Regions from separate parts of the Homo sapiens genome. Here region 1 is linked to region 2. Evidence: promoter capture Hi-C in human tissues and cell types (Jung and others, 2019). All regions are on one chromosome and are shown on one strand. The core of a region is centred on a gene start or on the middle of the fragment in contact, and the rest is flanking DNA. Distances in the headings are between cores, read along the strand shown.

Evidence for each region. The method cuts DNA at HindIII sites, captures the fragments that hold promoters and counts their contacts. A contact is called where the count stands out against the background at its distance.
Region 1: a fragment that was not itself captured here is called in contact with the fragment with the promoter of ITFG2 in region 2 in 1 of the 25 tissues and cell types used here (pancreas).

What each region holds. Positions count from the first base shown.
Region 1 is chr12:3,057,922-3,062,627 of GRCh38, reverse strand. No RefSeq gene overlaps it. Among named protein-coding and RNA genes, the nearest start is that of TSPAN9, 17 kb to the left of the region's middle. The HindIII fragment of the contact is 4,152 bases long and covers 1,159-4,706 here.
Region 2 is chr12:2,809,028-2,813,917 of GRCh38, reverse strand. It overlaps ITFG2 (integrin alpha FG-GAP repeat containing 2), which reads right to left and starts at 1,250. Exons shown (of 12, transcript NM_018463.4): 1 at 1,062-1,250. The coding sequence starts at 1,157. It overlaps ITFG2-AS1 (ITFG2 antisense RNA 1), which reads left to right and starts at 994. Exons shown (of 4, transcript NR_146317.1): 1 at 994-1,356. RefSeq lists enhancers at 974-1,223, 954-1,703 and a silencer at 1,334-1,423. The HindIII fragment of the contact is 16,489 bases long and covers 1-4,890 here.

The sequences.
Region 1 (4,706 bases), core at 1,985-4,484, 250 kb before region 2:
CTTGTCTCTACACAAAATTTTAAAATTTGCTGTGTGTGGTGGTGCTTGCCTGTGGTCCTAGCTATCTGGGAGGCCAAGATGTAAGGAACACTTGAGTCTGGGAGGCAAAGGTTGCAGTGAGCTGAGATCACACCACTGCACTCCAGGCTAGGCCACAGAGCAAGACCTTGTCTCTAAGTAAAAAAAGAAAGAGACAAGGTCATCTGCAAGTGGAGGTTTGAAGGAAGGGCCAGGGGCTTGGGGAGATCGACAGGGGTTTGAAATAATCGCTGTGGGAAAGTAAGTTAATCAGACACTTATCGGGGTTCCCCAGGTGTAGTGAGGGTACCTCTGGATGTAGTAATCATGAATTTATGTAGAACCAGTATGCCCTGTTGTGTGACTTTCCCAGAGGCTGCCTGAGAGCAGGCACAGTAATAGGTAGTTGGGTCCATACACAGTTGGGATTTTGCCAGATAGGATAAAAAAATGACAAAGGATCCAGATTAGGGCTTGACCAACATTGTTAGAGACATGGACTCTAAGCATGATAAAGGAGGAAGGAAGGGAGAGAGACAGCTGATGGTATGGGGATAAGTAGAGACAGCCACAGATCAGAGGTGCTGATGATGGTGAACAGGTGCAGTGGGGGTACCCGCACAGGCCAGCCATGGGGAAAGGAGCAGCAGTCAGAGAAGAGGAGAGTGAATAATCAGTGATTTGGAAGTGGAAAGTCTCAACTTCCAATAGTGCCAAAGCCCAAACTGTGACTGTGGAAGTGGGTGGCTTAGTGACAGTAGAGGTGATCTTTAGGGAAGAGGGAGTCAAGAAGCTGAGAGCCCAGTTGGACTGTTGACAATTTCACCCAAACCAGGGGTGAATTGACCTAGGATGACAGCAGCACACAGGTGAGGAGGAAGTGGTGAGACTGATGCAGAGATCTTTGAAGAAGGAGGGACCTGGAGGTCGGTGGATGACAGAGGCTTTCAGGAAGGGAAGAGGGTGGCATAGCTGTATGGTTGAGGCTCAGAAAAAGCCTAAGGGAAATGGAAAGCAAAGAAGACAATGACCTTACTGCCCAGCTTTTAAGCTGTGGCACGGAGAAAATGACAACCACCACTGTAGGAGGGCTACAGAAGACACAGTGTGTGCTGGGGTATGATTTTATTTATCTATGGCTGCAGAACAAATTACTACAGATTCAGAGGCTTAAAACAACACACACTTAGTATCTCACAGGGTCTGTGAGTCAGTCTCAGCATGGCTTAGCTGGGCTGTCTGCTCAGGATCGCAGGAGACTATAATCAGGGTGTTGGCCACAGTGCCATCTGGAAGCTCCACTAGAAGAATCTGCTTCCAGCTCACTCGGGATGCAGGAGAATTCGTTTCCTGATTCCTCACTGGCTGTCTGCTGGAAGCTGCCCTCAGTTCTTAGCCACGTGAGCCTTTCCAATGTGCTGCTCATTTCACTGAGCCAGCAAAAAGTCTCCAGAACAAGTCTGTTAGCAAGACAGTCTCATAATATCACTCCATCACAGTGTGACATCCAACCCCGCTGCATATTCTGTTCATTAGAAGCAAGTGACAGGTGCACATGTACTCAAGGAGAGGGCATTACACAGAGGTGTGAGCACCAGGAGCCAGGGATCATGGTGGCCTCTTAGGGTGTGTCCTCTTCAGAAGGTGCGAGGATATAGGACGTTTGCTGGTTACGTCAGGGCAGCATGGTGGAGGAAGTGGGATGTGGGGAAGGTAGGAGCTGAGTCAGGACAAGAAAGGCTGAGCACTTGAGATGAGGGTGTGCTGGGTGACAAGGAGAGGGGCTTGGACTTTGGGGACAAGCTGATGGAGATAGAGTTATCTGCTTTTCTCCATTGCATGCACTATGAAAAAGAAATCTGCTTATTTATAAAAACCCATGTGTGGCTGAGCGTGGTGGCTCACGTCTGTAATCCCAGCACTTTGGGAGGCCGAGACAGGTGGATCACCTGAGGTCAGGATTTCGAGACCAGCCTGGCCAACATGGTGAAACCCCATCTCTACTAAAAATACAAAAAAATTAGCCAGCCATGGTGGCAGGAGCCTGTAATCCCAGCTATTCGGGAGGCTGAGGCAGGAGAATTGCTTGAACCTGGGAGGCGAAGGTTGTGGTGAGCCGAGATCGCGCCATTGCACTCCAGCCTGGGTGACAGAGCAAGACTGTCTCAAAAAAAAAAAAAAGAATAAAAATTGTTAAAAAGGTTAACTTTGTTAGATGCATGTTAATTATATTTCCTCCGGAAGCTCTCTGAAGAGCAGGTCGCAGAGACCGTCTGAGAGGAGCCCTGAAGATAACAGGGAGAAACAATGAGAAAATGACATCCCCGATCTCCAGTACCAAACGCAGGGAAGAGTCAGAAGGCGTGATTGCTCCTGGACAGCAGGAACCCATGCCGATGGTTTGAAATTGAAATCAAAGTCTCATGAATTCAATAGAGTTGGGTGAAATGAAATTGTGTGACTGTCAATAAATGACCAGAGGATGATGGTTGATAAGACACACAAGGAGTATAAAAGTGAAGATGGCACATTTGAAGCCCTTGCCAGGGTGTCTGGGATCTAAGTAGGTATACATCCATTTATGACATTAAAAAGTTCATTAATGTTTTAATTGGAATACACATATGGGGGGAAGGAGGTAGAAAAAAATATATATATATAGTTGTTTTTATAAAAGAAGAATAAGCTGGAAGTTTAAAAGGGGAGAAAAAAATGAAAACCTTTTATAACAGGGTGTATTTTTTTAAAGGACTTAGAGTTGGAGTTGAATTGGACACATCAGCACGAACTCATTTCCCAGCTCCCACTGGAGTGCACTAGAAGCAGACGCCTGCCTTTAGTTCTCACACGGATAATGTGATTCGCACCATGAGCGCCCAGACATAACATTCAACTGATAACATTTGCCACTCAAAGAAACAGGGCTCCTTGGGGAATAGCTGATTCCATACCTTGGTGCAAGAAAAATCAGAGTTGGCCTGAGCAGACTTTGCTAGAAGTATGTAAGTTAAAAAACAAAAATGTTTAAGGTAGTGTTAAAAGGAAAAAGGACGCAGCATAAAAAGTCAAAGCTGGGCCGGGTGCGGTGGCTCACACCTGTAATCCCAGCACTTTTGGGAGGCCAAGGCGGGCGGATCACGAGGTCAGGAGATCGAAACCATCCTGGCTAACACGGTGAAACCCCATCTCTACTAAAAGTACAAAAAAATTAGCCGGGTGTGGTGGCGGGCGCCTGTAGTCCCAGCTACTCGGGAGGCTGAGGCAGGAGAATGGCGTGAACCCAGGAGGCAGAGCTTGCAGTGAGCCGAGATGGCGCCACTGCACTCCAGCCTGGGCGACAGTGCAAGACTCCGTCTCAAAAAAAAAAAAAAAAAAAGAAAGAAAAAAAGTCAAAGCCAGCCAGGCACGGTGGCTCATGCCTGTGATCCCCACTCTTTGGGAGGCTGAGGCAGGAGAGTCACTGGAGGCCAGGAATTCAAGACCAGCCTGGACAACATAACGAGACCCCACATCTACAAAAAATAAAAAAATTAGCTGGGTGTGGTGGCGCGTACCTGTAGTCCCAGCTACTTGGGAAGCCGAAGTGGAAGGATCCCTTGAGCCCAGGTGTTCAAGGCTGCAGTGACATTGTCTCTAAAAAGAAAAGAAAAGAAAGGAAAAAAAGGCAAAACTGTGATCATCTGATTATCAAAAAGAAAACAAAAATGTAGTGAAAAGCTTGAGTCCATAATGGTACTGGATATGGGTTATACTAAAAGTATATGTGAGCTCCTGAAAATGTCAACTGGTTTTTGGTTGTTTTTGTTTTGCCAAAGCCAATTGTTCTGAAGTGTCCACTTTTAAAACACTGTGCATACCATAGCCAAGTTTTGATTCATAATTAAGCTATGAATTTCTTGTACTTTTTTTTTTTTCTTTTGAGACAGAGTCTGGCTCTGTCGCCCAAGTTGGAGTGCAGTGGCGCGATCTCGGCTCACTGCAAGCTCCGCCTCCCAGGTTCACGCCATTCTCCTGCCTCAGCCTCCCGAGTAGCTGGGACTACAGGCGCCCGCCACCACGCCCGGATAATTTTTTGTATTTTTAGTAGAGACGGGGTTTCACCGTGTTAGCCAGGATGGTCTCGATCTCCTGACCTCGTGATCCGCCCGCCTTGGCCTCCCAAAGTGCTGGGATTACAGGCGTGAGCCACCGCTCCCAGCCCGAATTTCTTGTACTTATGTATTTATATCAGGTAATGAGATTTAAAGGACACTCAGGGATGAAAGATGCACTGAGTTATTTAAAAACAAAAAACAAAACAAAACAAAACAGTGAGAGTTCTATGAATCTTGTTAATTCGGCAGGAAAAACTTGACCAAAGGAAGCCACCCACACTGATAATTGCCAGCCTGGGAGAAATGACTGTAGAAGGCACATCCAGGCCCCACTCCCAGACCCAGTGCCCAGGCTCCAAGCATCTCTCCATACTGGAACAGCACGGCAGCTCCAAATCTGGAACTCATACCCCGATCTGTAACCGTACCTCAGACCTACATCTTCAACTGATTTCAGCCCAACTGTGAGGCTAATTCTGCTTTCTTTCTTTGGATAGAGGCTTAAAAATAAATATAAAGAAGATGATGGACACGAACGTACATTAATACTCTTGTAATACCTTTAAGGAGTAACTACTTTAATAGCTTTAGGTA
Region 2 (4,890 bases), core at 1-2,500:
CATAAAATTGGACTGCTTGGCAGTTCATGAAGAAACACGAAAGCCCAGAAAACATAACACAAATTTATGAGAATAACTCTTTCCTCCCCAGAGAGGGTAGAGCCAAAAAAGGCCTCATAAGATACCTTCTGCATCACAGCACTAGGGGGCGGTGGGAAATAAGTACAGGACAGTTAAGGAACTGTGAAGCAGGGAGGCCGAGTAGGAAGATAGGGCAGAGGGTAGAAGGGGGCAATACAGTGCTTTGCATTAGAACTATGAAATAGATGATAAATGAAAAGATAAAGTCTGCAAAAAAAAGAGCATCAGACACTATTCCCTTTAATGCTCCACCGGAGAATCCTCTCCATACTTTAGTCAATGCATCTCATTACATTTTATTATCCGGTGACTATTACACAGCTTGATTATGAGCTATCTGAGGACTGGAACTCTCTCGTTCATTTTTGAATTCCTAGAATGTAGCAGAGTCCTTGGTGCATAATGAGCAGTTCAGTAAAGATTTGCAGAAAAACAGAATAAAATACTAACACCACCACCACCACCACTAACACTTAAGTGAGCACTAAACTGTGTGCCAGGCATTGTTTTACCTGCTTGACCTGTGGTAATTTATTTAAAAAACGAGAAGGGCTGGGCACGATGGCTCAGGCCTGTAGTCCCAGCACTTTGGGCCAACATGGTGAAACCCCACCTCTACTAAAAACACAAAAATTAGTCGGGCGTGGTGGCGGGCGCCTGTAATCCCAGCCCCTTGGGAGGCTGAGGTAGGAGAATCGCTCGAGCCCGGGAGGCAGAGGTTGCGGTGAGCCGAAATCAAGCCACTGCACTCCAGCCTGGGTGACAGACGGAGCCTGTCTCAAAAAACAAACAAAACCTCCCAAGGAACAAAACCAACCACGAACACTGAAGCTATCAATAAAGTTTTTCTCTCTAGCGCTCCAAACTAGCCACAGCGCGCATGCTCACGCTCACGTGGCACGCTCGGGCGGCCTCTTCCACTTCCCTTGCCCCGTCCCTGCACAGATCCAGGCTGTCTCTTGCGGTGCGCATGCACCTACCGTATCGTTATCAACGTCTCCGAGGCAGATTGCGTGCGGGAAGAGGCTCCCGCTGAACTCCAGCGCCACGCGCTGCACGTAGCTAACTGACCTCATGGCACCTCCAAGAGCAGAGGGAGCGGAGAGGCCCAGTAAATATTCCCTGAACCCCCGTCGCGACAGCCGCCAGAGCGGAAGGCCACCTAAGGCAGCAAGTTACGTCACTGCCTGAACCTCCAATCTCTGCCTCTTCCTCCTTTAACCTTACAGAGGAGGCGGGTCTTCCGGGCTTGGAGGCGGGCTTCCCAACTCTGATGTGAGTGACAGGCCCACGGGCCACTCCTTTTCTCCACAGGGCTGCAGACCGTGGGTAAACCAACCCTGACGGGGGTCGATCTGTTCCCTTGGCAACAGGGCTCCCAAGGGCTTGACCTAATAACCTTGACCTTTTTCCTTTGTTTCCCTGGCAATGAAGATTCCTAGCCATCAGACCATTCCTGAGAATCTTACTAATCTTCGTAATAACTGATAATTGCATGGTTTTGAAAAGTGTTTTTAAAAAACTACCCATTAGGAGTGAAAACAATGTAGTGAGTTGCAATCAGCATATAAAAAATTAAATACAATAGTAATATACCAAGTGACTCCCAGGTAGTAAGGTAAGTACAGTTTTTGTGAAACTCTTGTTTCAATTGTATATACTTATATGTGTATACTGGCTTATAATGTAAAAAAAATTTTTTTTTTCAGTGTATGTGTTTTCTGGTCAATAGTTTAAAAGCCACCTGCTGCAAAGCACATTTCACATATTTCACATAATTAGTTCAGCCACTATGCGAGCTTTTTTTTTTTTTGGCTGAGGAAAACAGGTTCAGCAAGATTAAGTAAAATGGCAGAAGGAAGGATTGTGGGGCGGGGTGCGTGCTCAAACCAGAATTGTTTGATCCCAAACCCTAGGGCCTCTCCATCATTTACTATCATAGTTCGTAGGAGAGTCTTCAGGCTGGAAGTGAAGGTTGCCTGGATTCCGGATCTGCTCTGTCTTGTGGCCCCCCAGCACAAAGCTCTTGCATCTCAACCTCAGTAGCCTTACTCTTGTAGCACAGATGGGACTGTCACTCTCATGGCTGGCTTCTTGGGATACTTTCTTTCCATGTTGAATCCAGTTCTGCCTTTCTTTGGGGTGCCTCGTCAATCAGGGCAATATTTATGAAATCATACAGGTGTTCAATACATTTTTAGATTTAGGTCTAAAAACCCAGGCTGACTCGCACTTGGTGTTTCAAAAAAAAAAAAAAAATGATTCTACCTTATCTGGGATTTTGGACCAGGGGCTGTTCCTTTTTATCTTTTTTTTTTTTATTTTTATTTTTATTTTTTTTTGAGACAGAGTCTCGCTCTGTTGCCCAGGCTGTAGTGCAGTGGCGCAATCTCGGCTCACTGCAACCTCTGCCTCCCAGGTTCAAGCAGTTCTCCTGCCTCAGCCTCCCGAGTAGCTGAGACTACAGGCGAGCGCCACCACGCCCAGCTAATTTTTAATTTAATTTAATTTAATTTTTTTTTTTTTTGAGACGGAGTCTCGCTCTGTCACCCAGGCTGGAGTGCAGTGGTGCGATCTCGGCTCGCTGCAAGCTCCGCCTCCCGGGCTCAAGCCATTCTCCTGCCTCAGCCTCCGGAGTAGCTGGGACTACAAGCGCCCGCTACCACTCAAGGAGAATTTTTTGTATTTTTAGTAGAGACGGCGTTTCACCGTGTTAGCCAGGATGGTCTCGATCTCCTGACCTCGTGATCCACCCGCCTCGGCCTTCCAAAGTGCTGGGATTACAGGCATGAGCCACCGGCGCCCGGCCGCCCAGCTAATTTTTGTACTTTTAGTAGAGACGGGGTTTCACCATGTTGGCCAGAATGGTCTTGATCTCTTGACCTCTTGATCTGCCCGCCTCGGCCTCCCAAAGTGCTGGAATTACAGGCGTGAGCCACTGCGCCCGGCCCCTTTTTTCTTTTTCTTTCTTTTTTTTCTTTGAGAGTCTTGCTCTGGAGTGCAGTGGTGCGATCTGGGCTCATTGCAACCTCCGCCTCCCAGGCTCGAGATCTTGTGTCTCAGCCTCCCAGGTAGGTGGGATTACAAGCGTGAGCCACCATGCCCGGCTTGTCCCTACTTTCTATGTCTGTACATAGTGGGAGGAGGCTGGAGGGCAAGACCTTTTCTTGGGGGAAGGGGGTGGCAGATTTTTTCCTAGATGTCCCAGTGGATCTGACAGCCAGGTAAGAAAGAACAGCAGGTCAGAACAGTAAACTGGAGGAAGTCTGGACAAATACTGGAGACTGCAGATATATTCTGAAGCTGAACTGTGTTACAAGTTCATATTTCTGGTTGTGTACTGTGGGATGGCCAGGTCCATTAAAAGGCACTGGGTCCCACAGGTATTCCTGGTGCTTTGAATACATTTTCTCATTTACAGAGCAGTTGCATGCTCCCTCACCCCGTGTTCTACCCCATCTCTATTCTCTCATCCTAGTTCAAATCCTAAGCTTCATATTAGGCCTTTAAGGGGTGGGAAAACCAAAACCAGTATCAAAATGTTCACCTCTAGGTTGGCTGTGGAGGCTCATGCCTGTAATTCCAGCACTTTTGGAGACTGAGGCAGGCAGATCACTTGAGCTCAGGAGTTCAAGACCAGCCTGGACAACATGGCAAAACCATGACTCCACCAAAAATGCAAAAATTAGCTGGGCATAGTGGTGCATGCCTGTGGTCCCAGCTACTCAGGAGGCTGAGGCGGGAAGATCTCCTGAGCCCAAGAGGCAGAGGTTGCAGTGAGCCAAGGTGGTGTCACTGCACTCCAGGCTGGGTGAAAGTGAGACTCTGTCTCCAAAAAAAAAAAAAAAAAAAAAACTTTACCTCTGAAATGGTTTTTTCTTTCTTTCTTTCTTTTTTTCTGAGGCAGTCTCCCTCTGTCACCCAGGCTGGAGTGCAATGACACGATCTCGGCTCACTGCAACCTCCGCCTCCCGGGTTCAAGCGATTCTCCTGCCTTAGCCTCCTGAGTAGCTGGGACTACAGGAGACTGCCACCACGCCCAGCCAATTGTTTTTGTATTTTTAGTAGAGACGGGGTTTCACCATATTGGCCAGGCTGGTCTTGAACTCCTGACCTTGTGATCTGCCTGCCTCGGCCTCCCAAAGTGCTGAGATTATAGGCATGAGCCACCACGCCCGGCCTCTGAAGTGGTTTTAAAAAAATATATTACTAAATAACTCAGAACAAGAGATGAGATCACCCAGCTTCTTTCATCAGGTGCCTTGGCCTGACCCAGTTATCTAAGATCAGACCCCAACCCAGGATTCCCCAGTGCCTTAGTTTTATCTTCCTCATCATTTGGGTTTCTTGGTCTGGATCTTTCTGTGACACGGGGTGTCTGTTTTTAATTGTAGAATATGTTTGCCATGAAGGTCATGTAATTATGATCACAACTTCTTTTTTACTTTTTTTTTTTTTTGAGATGGAGTCTCGCTCTGTCGCCTAGGCTGAGTGCAGTGGCACGATCTCAGCTCACTGCAAGCTCTGCCCTCCGGGTTCACGCCATTGTCCTGCCTCAGCCTCCCGAGAAGCTGAGACTACAGGCACCCGCCACCACACCCGGCTAATTTTTTGTATTTTTAGTAGAGAATGGGTTTCACTGTGTTAGCCAGGATGGTCTCAATCTCCTGACCTCATGATCCACCCACCTCAGCCTCCCAAAGTGCTGGGATTACAGGCGTGAGCCACTGTGTCTGGCCTTCTTTTTCACTTTTTTGAGTTTCACTCTTCTTGCCCAGGCTGGAGTGCAATGGTGCGATCTTGGCTCAC